Regions from separate parts of the Homo sapiens genome. Here all the other regions are linked to region 1. Evidence: promoter capture Hi-C in human tissues and cell types (Jung and others, 2019). All regions are on one chromosome and are shown on one strand. The core of a region is centred on a gene start or on the middle of the fragment in contact, and the rest is flanking DNA. Distances in the headings are between cores, read along the strand shown.

Evidence for each region. Contacts are between HindIII fragments. The study calls those that stand out against the background at their distance.
Region 2: a contact is called between a fragment that was not itself captured here and the fragment with the promoter of CACNG4 in region 1, in 2 of the 25 tissues and cell types used here (H1 embryonic stem cells and mesendoderm cells).
Region 3: a fragment that was not itself captured here is called in contact with the fragment with the promoter of CACNG4 in region 1 in 2 of the 25 tissues and cell types used here (H1 embryonic stem cells and bladder).
Region 4: a fragment that was not itself captured here is called in contact with the fragment with the promoter of CACNG4 in region 1 in 2 of the 25 tissues and cell types used here (H1 embryonic stem cells and IMR-90 fibroblasts).

Annotation. Positions count from the first base shown.
Region 1 is chr17:66,963,303-66,966,311 of GRCh38, reverse strand. CACNG4 (calcium voltage-gated channel auxiliary subunit gamma 4) reads right to left here and starts at 1,605. Exons shown (of 4, transcript NM_014405.4): 1 at 1,181-1,605. The coding sequence starts at 1,400. The HindIII fragment of the contact is 19,073 bases long and covers 1-3,009 here.
Region 2 is chr17:66,742,765-66,745,773 of GRCh38, reverse strand. All of the region lies in intron 13 of PRKCA (protein kinase C alpha), which reads right to left. Among named protein-coding and RNA genes, the nearest start is that of MIR634, 43 kb to the left of the region's middle. The HindIII fragment of the contact is 3,364 bases long and covers 1-3,009 here.
Region 3 is chr17:67,151,512-67,154,520 of GRCh38, reverse strand. All of the region lies in intron 17 of HELZ (helicase with zinc finger), which reads left to right. Among named protein-coding and RNA genes, the nearest start is that of HELZ-AS1, 92 kb to the left of the region's middle. The HindIII fragment of the contact is 4,410 bases long and covers 1-3,009 here.
Region 4 is chr17:66,777,212-66,780,220 of GRCh38, reverse strand. The region is part of intron 14 of PRKCA (protein kinase C alpha); the gene reads right to left. Among named protein-coding and RNA genes, the nearest start is that of MIR634, 8.4 kb to the left of the region's middle. The HindIII fragment of the contact is 5,157 bases long and covers 1-3,009 here.

The sequences.
Region 1 (3,009 bases), core at 356-2,855:
CCCTCCACCCGGTCCCCGATCTGAGCGCCACGCTTAAGCAGCAAACCTGTGCCCAACCTTGCTGGGACCAGGTGGCCCCTCCCCAGCCACCTGTTAGTTCAAGTTCCGCAGCCGGGCAGAAGGGCGCCCGGAAGGCGCCGAAGCCGAGCGCATTTTGGCGTTGGAGGCATCCAGGCCCCTCCCCAGTAGGGAGCTGTCCCCACGGTCCCGGGGCTGAAATCCTGGTCCCCTAGCATTCCAGCCTCATGACACCTACTACTCAGCCTCCAGTCGCATTTGGGGGTCGCAGCGCCCAGCTCCGACGAGATGACCACGCCCCTCCCAGTCTGTTCCCGGTCCGCAGATCGGTCCTGCACACCCTAGTTTCCTACTGAGGTCTCCGCAGCCTCCCTGCTGAGGGGCCGCGACCGAGGTCGCTGTCTCCGTTGGGGGAGACTCGGTGTCGCTCCCCTTACCACCCCACCGCACAGCGAGGAGCGGGCCGGTGACTCCGTGGGAGACGAGGCGGGCGTCGGGCTGGGCCTACCCAGCTACCCTAGATCCGCTAGGAACTCAGCCCCTACCCCGGCTCCGACCGCGCCCCCGCCCCTACTTCTGCCCCTACTTCTGCCCCCACCCCTCAGCCCGAGCCTGTAGAAAGCGCCCAGCGGCACCGACGCGCCCCGCCCCCGGCCGGCCCCGCCCCAGGATGGCCAGTTCCCATAGCAATAGCACAGACACCGGTTGCCAAGCAACCCCTCCCCCCCTCCCGTCCGCTCCCCCCAACCCCAGCCTCCTCCCGCCCCCTCGCCAGCCTCCACCTCCCCCGGGGGTGCCGGCGCGGCCCCTGGGGATCGCTCGGGTCCCGGGCTACGCGCGCGTGCTTGAGTTTCGGTGTGTTTCATTGTGTCTGTGGGCGAGGGGGTGTGCGCGTGGAGAGTTTGTGGGATCGGTGTGCTGGGGAGGTCCCCAGCCGAGAGGGACCAGAGCTGATGTACAGCTGGCCGCGAAGGGACCCGCCCGCCAGCTCCGGCTCCTTTGTGTCTCGCGCGGAGCCAGCGCCGCGCCCACCCTCTCCCCGGCCCGCGCGCCGGGCAGTGTGTGCGCGTGTGTGTGTGTGCGCGCGCGCGCGCGCGCGTGTGTATATGTGTGTGTGTGTGTGTGTGTGTGTGGGGCGGCGAGGGGTCGGGGCTGGCCGTACCTTCGATGCAGCACACCCGCCACAGACCAGAGTGGGTGAGGTCGCCGCGGGCGCGGCGGGGCGGGGGCCCGTCGTCCATGGTCAGGTTGGTGCCGTTGCAGATGTGCGCGCTGGAGTACAGCCAGTAGTCGGTGCCGATGGCGATGGCCATGAGCGAGAAGGCGGCGAAGGCTCCGGCCGTGGTCAGCAGCATCTGCAGCCCGCGGTCGCATCGCACCATGGTGGGCGCCTCATAGTCCGCCGCCCGCCGGCCCGGCCCGCCGCGCCCGCCCGCCCTCCTCCCTCCGCGCGCCGCTCCGGGGGCGCCGGGGTTGGGGGGCCGAGGGCCGGGGGGCGGCGCCGCGCTGCGCGCTCCGACCCCGCGCCCCGGGCGTGCCTGCGCTCCGGCAGCGCTGGGGCTCAAACTCCGAGGCGCGGCGACGAGTGCGGGCTGCGCGGCCGCCGGGCGGGCTGGCGGCGGCGGCCGGGGGCTCCTCCCTCTCCGCTCGCCCTCCCCCCTCGGCCCGCGCCTCCGCCCTGCGCCCTCCGCGCCTCCCCCGCCGCCGCCGCGCTCCGGGTCCGCGCCCCGTTTCTCTCGGCGCCGCCCCTCGAGCCTCGGCCCCCGCCCGGCTGTGCGCTCCTCTGAGCTCCCCTCTCTCCCCAGCCAGGATTTTCTCCCCCTCGCCTCCCTTCCCCTCGCCTCCCCTCCCCTCCCTTCCCCTCCCCTCCCCGCGCCCGCGCGCGCTCTCTCTCTCTCCCAGAGTTCATTCACATTATTGGAGTGAAGGAAGCCGAGGGAAGTGTTCCCCAGGAGGACCGAAGGGAAAGCGCGTCTCCAGCCACCTCTCTTACCCGCCCAGGACATCCAGCCTCCCCTCCGACGGCCCTGCGGATTCTTTAATTTGTGGAGGAGGGCGTGGGTGGGTGTGTCCCTCCTTTCCCCTCTGTGCCTGTTCACCTGGTGATGAAGGTGAGTGTGGGAGTGCGTGTTCAGGTCAGAATTCCTGAAACCCCAGATGTGGGACACAGCTGCCAGACCCTGCAAGCCACGCCAGGCCCGGGCCAGGCCCCACCCCAACCCAGGTGGTTCCTGCTCCTCCAGATCCCCTTGCAGGGCCTGGAAGGACCCTGACTTGGGGTTGAGGGAGAAGGGCGATGACAGCGAGAAGTCCTTTGGGGAGAACACAGGGTCTCTGCTTTCTAGAGTGGTGGCAAGGCTGAGATTGAAGATGGGGCGTTCCTCTGTGCTCACATTTCTGAGGGTCTATTACTGCTAGAGTCCAGGGACACTCCAGTTGTGTTAGATTCCAACACTCCACCCGCCAGCCTTTTCCCTTTCTCTCCCAACCTTTCGCAATGCCTTTATTTCGTTTTGCCTTTTGCTCTGCTCGAGCTTAACCGGCTTTCCCTCCCCTGGCCTTTATTGTCAGCCTCTGACCCCAACCCCTGCTGGCTTCACTTAATTGCCTTTGCTGCTGGCCGTGATCCCAACCTGGACACACTCCCTTCTCCAGGGAGCCGGTCCGGACTCCTCCTTCCAGACCCAGCTCCAAACCCCTCCCTCCAGGAGGTTCTCAGAGCCCAGCATCAGGAGGTGCAGCACCCTTTGACATGTCCAGGTGGTCCTGTTGTTGGCATCCCTGGCTGCACTGGACCCCAGGATATGGAAAAAGGTATAGGGAGTGCTGCTATTCTTGCAAGACGAAGCTTAACTTTCTTTGTGGCACCTTCCCTGGTCCCCACTCCCCGTGTTGAAATCACTGTTCTCTGTCCCACAAGATTGTGAGCCTTTCCTGTGACTGGCATACATGGTAAGGGCTTAGCAAATGTTTGCTGAGTGAGAGTTGTTT
Region 2 (3,009 bases), core at 278-2,777, 220 kb after region 1:
CTGAAACACAGATCTGATGCTACCTCCCTGTGGGGCTTGTCATGAGGATTAAATGAGAGAAGGTTTATTGTATTTATTTATTTATTTATTTTTGAGACGGTGTCTCACTCCGTTGCCCAGGCTGGAGTGCAGTGGCACGATCTTAGCTCACTGCAATCTCTGCCTCCCAGGTTCAAGCGATTCTCCTGCCTCAGCATCCTGAGCAGCTGGGATTACAGGCACCTGCCACCACACCCGGCTAATTTTTGTATTTTTTAGTAGAGATGGGGTTTCACTATGTTGGCCAGGCTGGTCTTGAACTTCCACCTCAATTGATCCACCTGCCTTGGCCTCCCAAAGCACTGGGATTGTAGGAGTGAGCCACTGTGCCCAGCCAAGAGAAAGTTTATCATGTGCCTGGCACACGGTAGACAATAGAAGGTGGTCACTTCCTCTATTATTGCTTGTACAGTAGATGTAAGGAGGGGAATGAAGGCTTCAGATGTGAAAGTATCTAGAGCAAGAACAGAGTATTCTCTGTGTATGAAGAGGCCCGAAGTTACCAAGACATGACAGAAGTGTGTTTAGGTGTCCCTGTTGAGGACAGTGAGGAGGTTCTCCAACATATAACAAGTGTGATAGACTAAGTCCCCTCTCCCCAACAGATGTCCACATCCTTATCCCTGGAACCTGTGAATCTATTACCTTTATGCATTAAAAAGGATTTTGCAGAGGCAAATTAAGGATCTTGAGCTAGGGAGATGATCCTGGATTATCCAAGTGGGCCCCATATAATCCCAAAGATCCTTGTAGGAGAAGAGGGAGGCTGGAGGGTTGTAGTTGGAAAAGACAGAGAGATTGGAAGATGCTACGTTGCATGGGGGAGGGAAGAAGACACCACGAACCAAGGAATGCAGGTGGTGGCCTCTTGATGTTGGAAAAGGCATGGATGGCAACAGGTTCTCCCCTAAAGCTTCCAGAAGAAACCAGCCCTGCCCACAGCTTGACTTTAGTCCAGTGAGGCTGATTTTGGACTTCTGATCTCCGGAACCACATGATAATAAATCTGAGTTATTTTAAACTGCTGAGTTTGTGGTTATCTGTTACAGTGGCAACAGGAACTCATACCGTGAATGATACCGAACCGCAACAACAAAAAAAGACAAGACACTCAAATGGACAAACCTTAATGATATGGAAAATTTTGTCTCTACTGGACACTGTTGTTCCTGGTGTTATTAGATAGCTGAGGTGTTACTGAACACAAGGAGCTATTTGTCGGAACAGGAGAGACCTGGTCTTAATAGAGATGAGGTTCAATGCCACCTTTATTCCTAAAAAAGCTGCCATTCCCCATCACTAAGCTTTTACATCATCTGCTGAATTGTTCAATGAAGGCTGAATGGCTCATAATCACAGCCTGCTTAATACCTGTCATTTAGTAACAGGCTTCAGAATAAATACTACATCAAGAGATTGTATTTCTGACAGTACCCTGACTATTCCTCATATTTGAAAAATAAGACTATTTAATTTCACCTCATGTCTGTAGGTACTAATGAGGGAGTTCTTTTGGGGGAAAATCCCAGTAAGTTATGCAGCAAGATCACATATCACCTCTGGCCATGCGATTCAGAATTTAAGTTTCTAAATGAAGTCTATGTGTCCACGCTGTCTTGAAATATCATAAAACTACAAGGTCTTCACAAAGGAATAAAAAGCAGCTTCCCTTTTGGAATAATGACTATGGAGGGTCTACTAGATGCAAAATGTTGTATTAGGCACTTCAGTCCACACAGCAATTCTACAAGGAGGATATTATCCCTAAGGTGCCGCTGAAGAAACGGGGTTCAGAGACGTTAAGTAACTCACCCGAGTTCCCACAGTCTGTAAATAACAGATTCCAGATTGAAGCTCACATGGGTCTGACTTCTGAGCTTGTGGGTGCCTTTTTCACTATCCCTACTGTCTCTGAGATAAATGCATGGGGTAATCTGTTGAATAAATGTGAGACCGGCTGCCAACAGCTCATCTGAGGGCTCTGTGAAGAGCTGAAGCCAGCTCAGCTTTGGATCCATTGGTCTCCACCATGCTGGGTACAGATGGGAAAAAACTGTGGCATCCATAGGACTGTGTGTGGATGGAAAGTTGGCTCTACAGTGACTACAGTGACAACCCATTCTATCATTGGCATGTGGGATGTTTCATAAAACAGGAAAAAAAATCCTCTGTAAGTGTTATAACAAAAGCAGAGCAGCACAGCCGCTGCTGTCAAGATACAAGTCCTGGAACCATTTTGCTTAGAACCACACTGACACATTCTTCCTAGACCAGACAACATGCAGTTTAGAACAGTCATCACCGCGATGCTGCTAATACACCATCACTGCAACCCCCGTCTCACCCCGCCTTCCAGGCAGAGTATTTTCACAAGTAATTCCCTCCACTCAACAGTATTTCTTTTTTTGGGGGGACAGAGTCTTGCTGTCACCCAGGCTGGAGTGCAATGGCATGATCTCAGCTCACTGCAACCTCTGCCTCCTGGGTTCAAGAGATTCTCCTGCCTCAGCCTCCTGAGTAGCTAGGTATTACAGGTGTGCACCACCATCCCTGGCTTTTTGTATTTTTAGTAGAGATGGGGTTTCACCACGTTGGCCAGGCTGGTCTTGAACTCCTGACCTTATGATCCACCCACCTCGGGCTCCCAAAGTGCTGGGATTACAGGCGTGAGCCACCGCGCCCAGCCAACAGTGTTTCTTAAATGATTTTGACCATGACCATGTAACAAATACATTTTCCCAAGCAACTGGCTCACATGGAGCAAACAACAGTTCCAGGAAGCAAGACACAACCTTACTATGTGCAATGGGCTCTCCTATTTCCTCTATTTTAGTCTGTTTTGTCCAGTTTAGTCCATTTAGTGGCTGTGACCATGCACTGACTTCATGATTCGCCAGTGACCCTATAACCCATGAGAGGGCTGCGTTTACAGTTTGGGAGTCCTGGTTGAGAAAACGATCACTGGGGTTC
Region 3 (3,009 bases), core at 379-2,878, 190 kb before region 1:
CAAAGAAACAAAAAATTACTTAGTAATTAGTATCAGACAATAAAAAGAATTACTCTTTTATTTTACTTTTTAAATTATTATTATTTTTTTTTAAGACAGAGTCTCACTCTGTAACCCAGGCTGGAGTGCAGTGGTGTGATTTCAGCTCACTGCAGACTCCATCTCCTGGGTTCAAGTGATTCTTGTGCCTCAGCCTCCCAAGTAGCTGGGACTACAGGTGCATTGCCACCATGCCAGGCTAATTTTTGTATTTTTAGTAGATACGGGGTTTTGCCATGTTGGCCAGGCTGGTCTTGAACTCCTGGCCTCAAGTGTTCCACCCACTTCAGGCTTCCAAAGTGCTTGGATTATAGGCGTGAGCCATCACGCCTGGCCAAAATATTAATAATTACTCTTTTTAAAAACCTTTTTGGTTTGCTTCCAAAAATAATTTAAGTTTGCTCTAGTAAAATGTGCAGAGGCCATAAAATTGAGAAACATTAATACAAAGTAAGAGACAAGAGCCTAGTAACAAATGGTGGCTCTTTGAGAAAAGGAAATTATTACCAAAATTTTAGACTAACTGAAGGCATGCCAATTAAGCACCAGATTTTGCTCTTAAACTTTTTTGGAAGCTGAGTAGAAATTATCCTTTTGTTCCATATGATGACTTATTAAATAAAATACTTTGCACAATATGTGCTTTTAGATGGAGTAAACAACATACCTTTTAAATAATTATTTTGATTGCCTATATTCATATCATGATGCTACCTTTTTGCATTTGTGCAGTGTACATTGAATATTAACTGAGTGTTTAGAAATGCTGATTTTAGTTTCAGCTTTGCTGTGGGTGAAGGGAAGTGGGGGGGCTTCTGTTTGTTGGTGCCAGGCATTATGCTACATATTATACATCTGTTATCTCATTTGATTTCCCCAAATCCTTAAGAAGTTGAATTATTATACTCATTTTGGAAATAAGAAATGAAGCTTAGAGAGGGGAAGAACAGGTTTAAATCCTGGCTGTAAGCCCTTTGGGCTTTGGTTTTCCTAACTAGGGAAGAGGAATAATAGTGATGAAAATAACAATCATCTGATGATCTTTGTAATTTTACTGACGGAGTAGAAGCCATCAGAAGAGAATGCCCACATCTTCCCTTTGATAGAGCATCTGACTTGCATCTCCTTAGTAACTACTTTCCCTCCCATTCTAAACTGTTCTTTTCTAGGGGCCAACCTCTCCTCTTGTGAACGAGCTCTCATCCTTTCCTGGATACACAGCTTCTTCTTTCCTGCATACTTTTTTCTTTGTACAGCATGAAAATATACTATTGTGTCTTGTTTAAAAAAACAAAACAAAAACTCACCTTCACCCGACCTGCATCAGCCTTTAAGCAAAACTTATCCAGACAGTTGTCTATATATACTCCCTGGCACTACCTCCTCTCTTCTCTTTCTTTCTTGAGCTCAAGCTAATCAGATTTCCATCTGTAATTTTACACTAAAACCATCATATTGAGGTTCATCATATTGGTTTCCTTGTTGTTAAGTCCTGTGGTCAGTCTTCATTTTACGTAGCCTCTTAGCAGCATTTAACACAGTTACTCCTATTTCTATCTGAAACACTTGCTTCATTTTGCTTCCAATACCCCATGCTCTCCTGAATTCTCTCCTATTTCTTTGCTCCTTCCCAGGCTCCTTTCCCAGCTTCTGAATGTTGGAGAGGTCCATCAGTCATTCTTCCTTCCACTAGTTGTTTTTTTTTTTTTTTTTTAAATCTACTCTTATTTTCTAGGTAATCTCATCTAGTCTCAAGGTTTAGTATTATCCCAATTGTAGCTATCTTGCCCCAGGCATTCTCCTGAACTCCAAACTTATGTATTGCCTTGCTTACTGGATATATCCACTTGGATATCTACTGAATATGCCCAAAACGAAATTCTGAATTCCCACCCCAAATCCGTTCCTCTTTTTTACCACCTTTGCAAACGCCATCACCATTTATCCAGTTTCAAAGGCGTGGAATCATTCCTTCTCTCAAATTCCACTTCTAGTTCATCAGTAAATTCTGTTGGCGTTACTCTCGAAATGCCTAGTGAATCTGACCATTTTCATATCTCTATTGTTGGCCTAATCCAAGCTACCATCTGCTCTTGTCTGCACTCTTAACAGTAACCTTGTAACTGGTCTCCTTGCTTCTACCCTCTGCTCCTTCCTCCGTGCCGCTCAGTGTTGTGTTGGAGCCAACTTGTATTGGTTTGTTAGAGCTAATCACGTGTACGACTTCTCAGGTTCATGTTCAGTGAAATGCTGGTAGCTTGAAATTACCATGACAGTTTTACACCACAAAAATCAGCAAACACTACAAACCGGAATCCTCTCCCCTTCCTAGCCCTGGAGCCGGGTGTTAAAATATTTACCAGCACACCGCTATCCACCCCCACCATATATGTTCTGCCCAGAGAAACAGAATAGTCCTTTAACAAAATAAGTCATGTCATGTCACTGCCCTGTTGGAACTCTCTGTTGGCTTTTCATCAAACTCAGAGTAAACCCAAGGATTGCTCACAAGCCCTATGTGATCTGCCTGTGTGCTGGAGCATAGTGGATACCTAATGAATCTTTGTTACATGGGTAGGTTAGAGATGGGTGGGTGGATGAGTAGATGGATGGATGAGTCATTTCTGTGTCATTTTAATAATCCATTGCGTGAGGCCTATTAATATTTTTCTTTTGCAAATAATGGAAGTACTTAAGACTTTCCAGTTGTTCAAACTTTAAATTTATTCTTAAATTTCCAGAACCTCAGACAGAGGTCTACTTAAGTATAGGTATAAGAATATATTCTAAAATAAAATGAAAATAACCTTTGAATTCCTGTTATAAGTATGCAATTCACTGTTTTTTGTTAGCATAAATAGTTAAAATATGAGTCAATGTATTTTTGTAAGAACGTTCTAGAAAAAGATAATTCCAGAATGGGAATGTTTTGAACTTAAAAAATTGTAGTGCTTATAAATCTTACGTTTA
Region 4 (3,009 bases), core at 152-2,651, 190 kb after region 1:
CATGTACCCTCATCACTAACGCTACTAGAGACACCTGTGCATATCATTGTTTTCTTCTCTGAATCACATCCCCATAATAACGTCCCAGGTGTGGCATCCTGCAGCCTAAAAAAATGTGAACACATTTACGGCCTTTGTTAAGTCTCTCTAGGCTCAAGTCTCCCTGGAGCATCTGACAGGTAATCACTCGCTCTCAGGCCCTGGCGTTGAAGGCAAGGGAACGGTGAAAAGTTACTAATTCTATTCCTTTTCCTTTCTGGTACTGCCAGCCACTTAGCCTGGGGACCATGGGGGTAACGTGTCACTCAGGTGCTTTAGTACATTACCATTTTGGATGCCTTCTCTCGCCTCTTTCCCCCATTCCCATGGTTTTTAATTTCTACAAATTTGGACTCAATGTTCCAGGCTAAGCTACCTGTTGAAAAGTCTTGGGTTGGTGTAAACATTTTCTGAATGGGTTCTATCCCCTCTCACCCGCTCCTTCCCACTTTAACAATATGTGATTTGTGGAAACCAACACATGAGGAGTGATGGTTCACATTTTGCAAAAAAGGATTCCTAATCACAGCTGTGAGCCACCTCACTGCACTGGTGTGATCTCAGCTAGGAAGTGGTCATGGAGGCCACGCTTATTTGCAAATCACGGAAACCTGGGCTGGGGGCTAGGCATGCTCCCCTGGACAATTCAGGCCGAAGTTAAGATGAAGTGGCGATTACTGATTCAGTAGGAGTGAAATCAAAGCATAAATAACCCAGGGAGAAAAGGGCATAAGGAGAGGGCTGGTCCCTTTATGACGATCACCGAGAACACTTGCAGGCACAAGGTGCTCATTAGAGTGCTGGGTAAACACTATTTATGCCCCAAAAGTGATTGTATTTGTCAAGCAGTCCAGGAACTGAATAAAGACTGAGGCTGTTTATTCTTAACTGCCCCCTTGGCTGCTGACAATAAATAAAGCAAATGAGAAGAAAATGGCAATAAACTATTTTTTTCCTGCTCATCTTCAGCCCTCTGCGATTAAAGAGGACAAACTTAGACCAAAACCCTGTCAACGACTTTATCATTAATCTTACTTTTCAATAACAACATCTATTCCGTTTGCTGGGTCTCTGGGATTGCTGAAGCTTGGAGGGGCTGTGGATAATACTGGGTAGAGCCTTCATTATCCTTTCTGAGCTGAGTGACAGCCTAGGAATACATTTAAATTTGCATTGAGGAGTCAGAGAGAAAGATGAAGAAGGGGATTTGAATGAAAACACTGTGTTTGAGGCGGGTGAGGTGGAGATTTAGAGGAACAAAGGCTGTTATCTGTGCCTGCCATTGCACCAGAATGTGGAGTGCCTTTAAGGAGTTGTTGTTTTTTTTTTTTTTTTTGGAGACAGGGTCTCACTCTCTCACCCAGGCTGGAGTGCAGTGGTGTGATGATCACAGCTCACTGCTAGCCTTGACCCCCCGGGCTCGATCAATCCTCCCACCTCAGCCTCCTACGTAGCTGGGATGACAGGCACTTGCCACCACGCCCAGCTCATTTTTGCATCTTTTGTAGACGGGATTTTGTCATGTTGCCCTGGTCTCGAACTCCTGGACTCAAGTGATCCACCCACCTTGGCCTCCCAAGGGCCCCAAAGGGATGAGCCACTGCACCTGGTCTAAGGTGTCATCTTTAAAGAATATCACCGTTTTCTTTTTTTCTTTTATTTTTTTGAGATGGAGTCTCGCTCTGTCGCCCAGGCTGCAGTGCAGTGGCGCGATCTCGGCTCACTGCAAGCTCCGCCTCCCGGGTTCACGCCATTCTCCTGCCTCAGCCTCCCGAGTAGCTGGGACTACAGGCGCCCGCCACCACACTCGGCTAATTTTTTTTTGCATTTTTAGTAGAGATGGGGTTTCACTGTGTTAGCCAGGATGGTCTCAATCTCCTGACCTCGTGATCCGCCCGCCTCGGCCTCCCGAAGTGCTGGGATTACAGGTGTGAGCCACCGGGCCCAGCCATCACCGTTTTTAATAGAGATGATGGAGACCTGAAAGTATGCATATAAGGCAGGCTAAGTGGCTCTGAGAAGCAGTGTGGGAAATATTGGAAACAGGCCAGAAAGTTTGCAGAACTATTGAGAGCTGGAGCCTGGTGCTCTCCAGGGGGCGTGAGCTTAGTAGGGAAACCTTTAAATAAGGCCTGTAAATCACCTCAGGCCAATTTGCAAATGAGGTCTGAGGCCAGTGTGGCAGAGCTTCAAAATGCACCCCCCAAAGGGGACTTCTCTGCCAGAAGAAAGCATTCCCTGAGTTCTCCCCTAGTGAATGAGATCCCAGGAAGGCTTGGAGAGGGGAGAAGCCAGGCTGCGGGAGGGAGGAGGACTTTCCTGCAGACCTGGGTTCTGAAATTCTTGTCTCCTGCTGGCCAAGAGTCTACTCACGTGACCTCTTGTAAAGCGCCCTCGGAAACAGATCCTGGCTTCGTTTCCGCCCAGCCCCTTTTGCATGTTAGCATATGCAAATGTGACTCTTAATGAAAGCAGGGTTTGTTTTCCAGACTCAAGAGCTGAACATTCAAGTGGGATCAAGAGGGGGACTTGGCTTTTTGTGACTTCATGAAAAGCAGGACTCTTAGGGGGCCTGTAATTCAGAGCCGAATTTTACTGTAAAAATTTTAAAGAGGGGGAAATTAACTTGAGGAGCAGACAACTCCTGTTTCTCCAGCCATTGACTCACTGATGGTGACTGTGTACGAACTGCCTTTCTGTGTTTACACCCGGACGTATTTGGCCTAAGAGGAATGCTTTGATTTGGGGTGGGGGGAGGGGAACTAAATAAATAATAAACCACTCTTTTGATGTCAGTCAAGCCTTAACACCATTGAGAAATAATGATCAAATGCAGGCTAAAGCTTTATGTCTTTCAATGTCTACAAGACCATTTCAGTATTTAGGAAATATAATGAAAGACACATAAAGGAGAGATCATCCACAGCCTCCCATCCTAGAGGCAAAGCCGCTGATCTGGAGATGACGTTC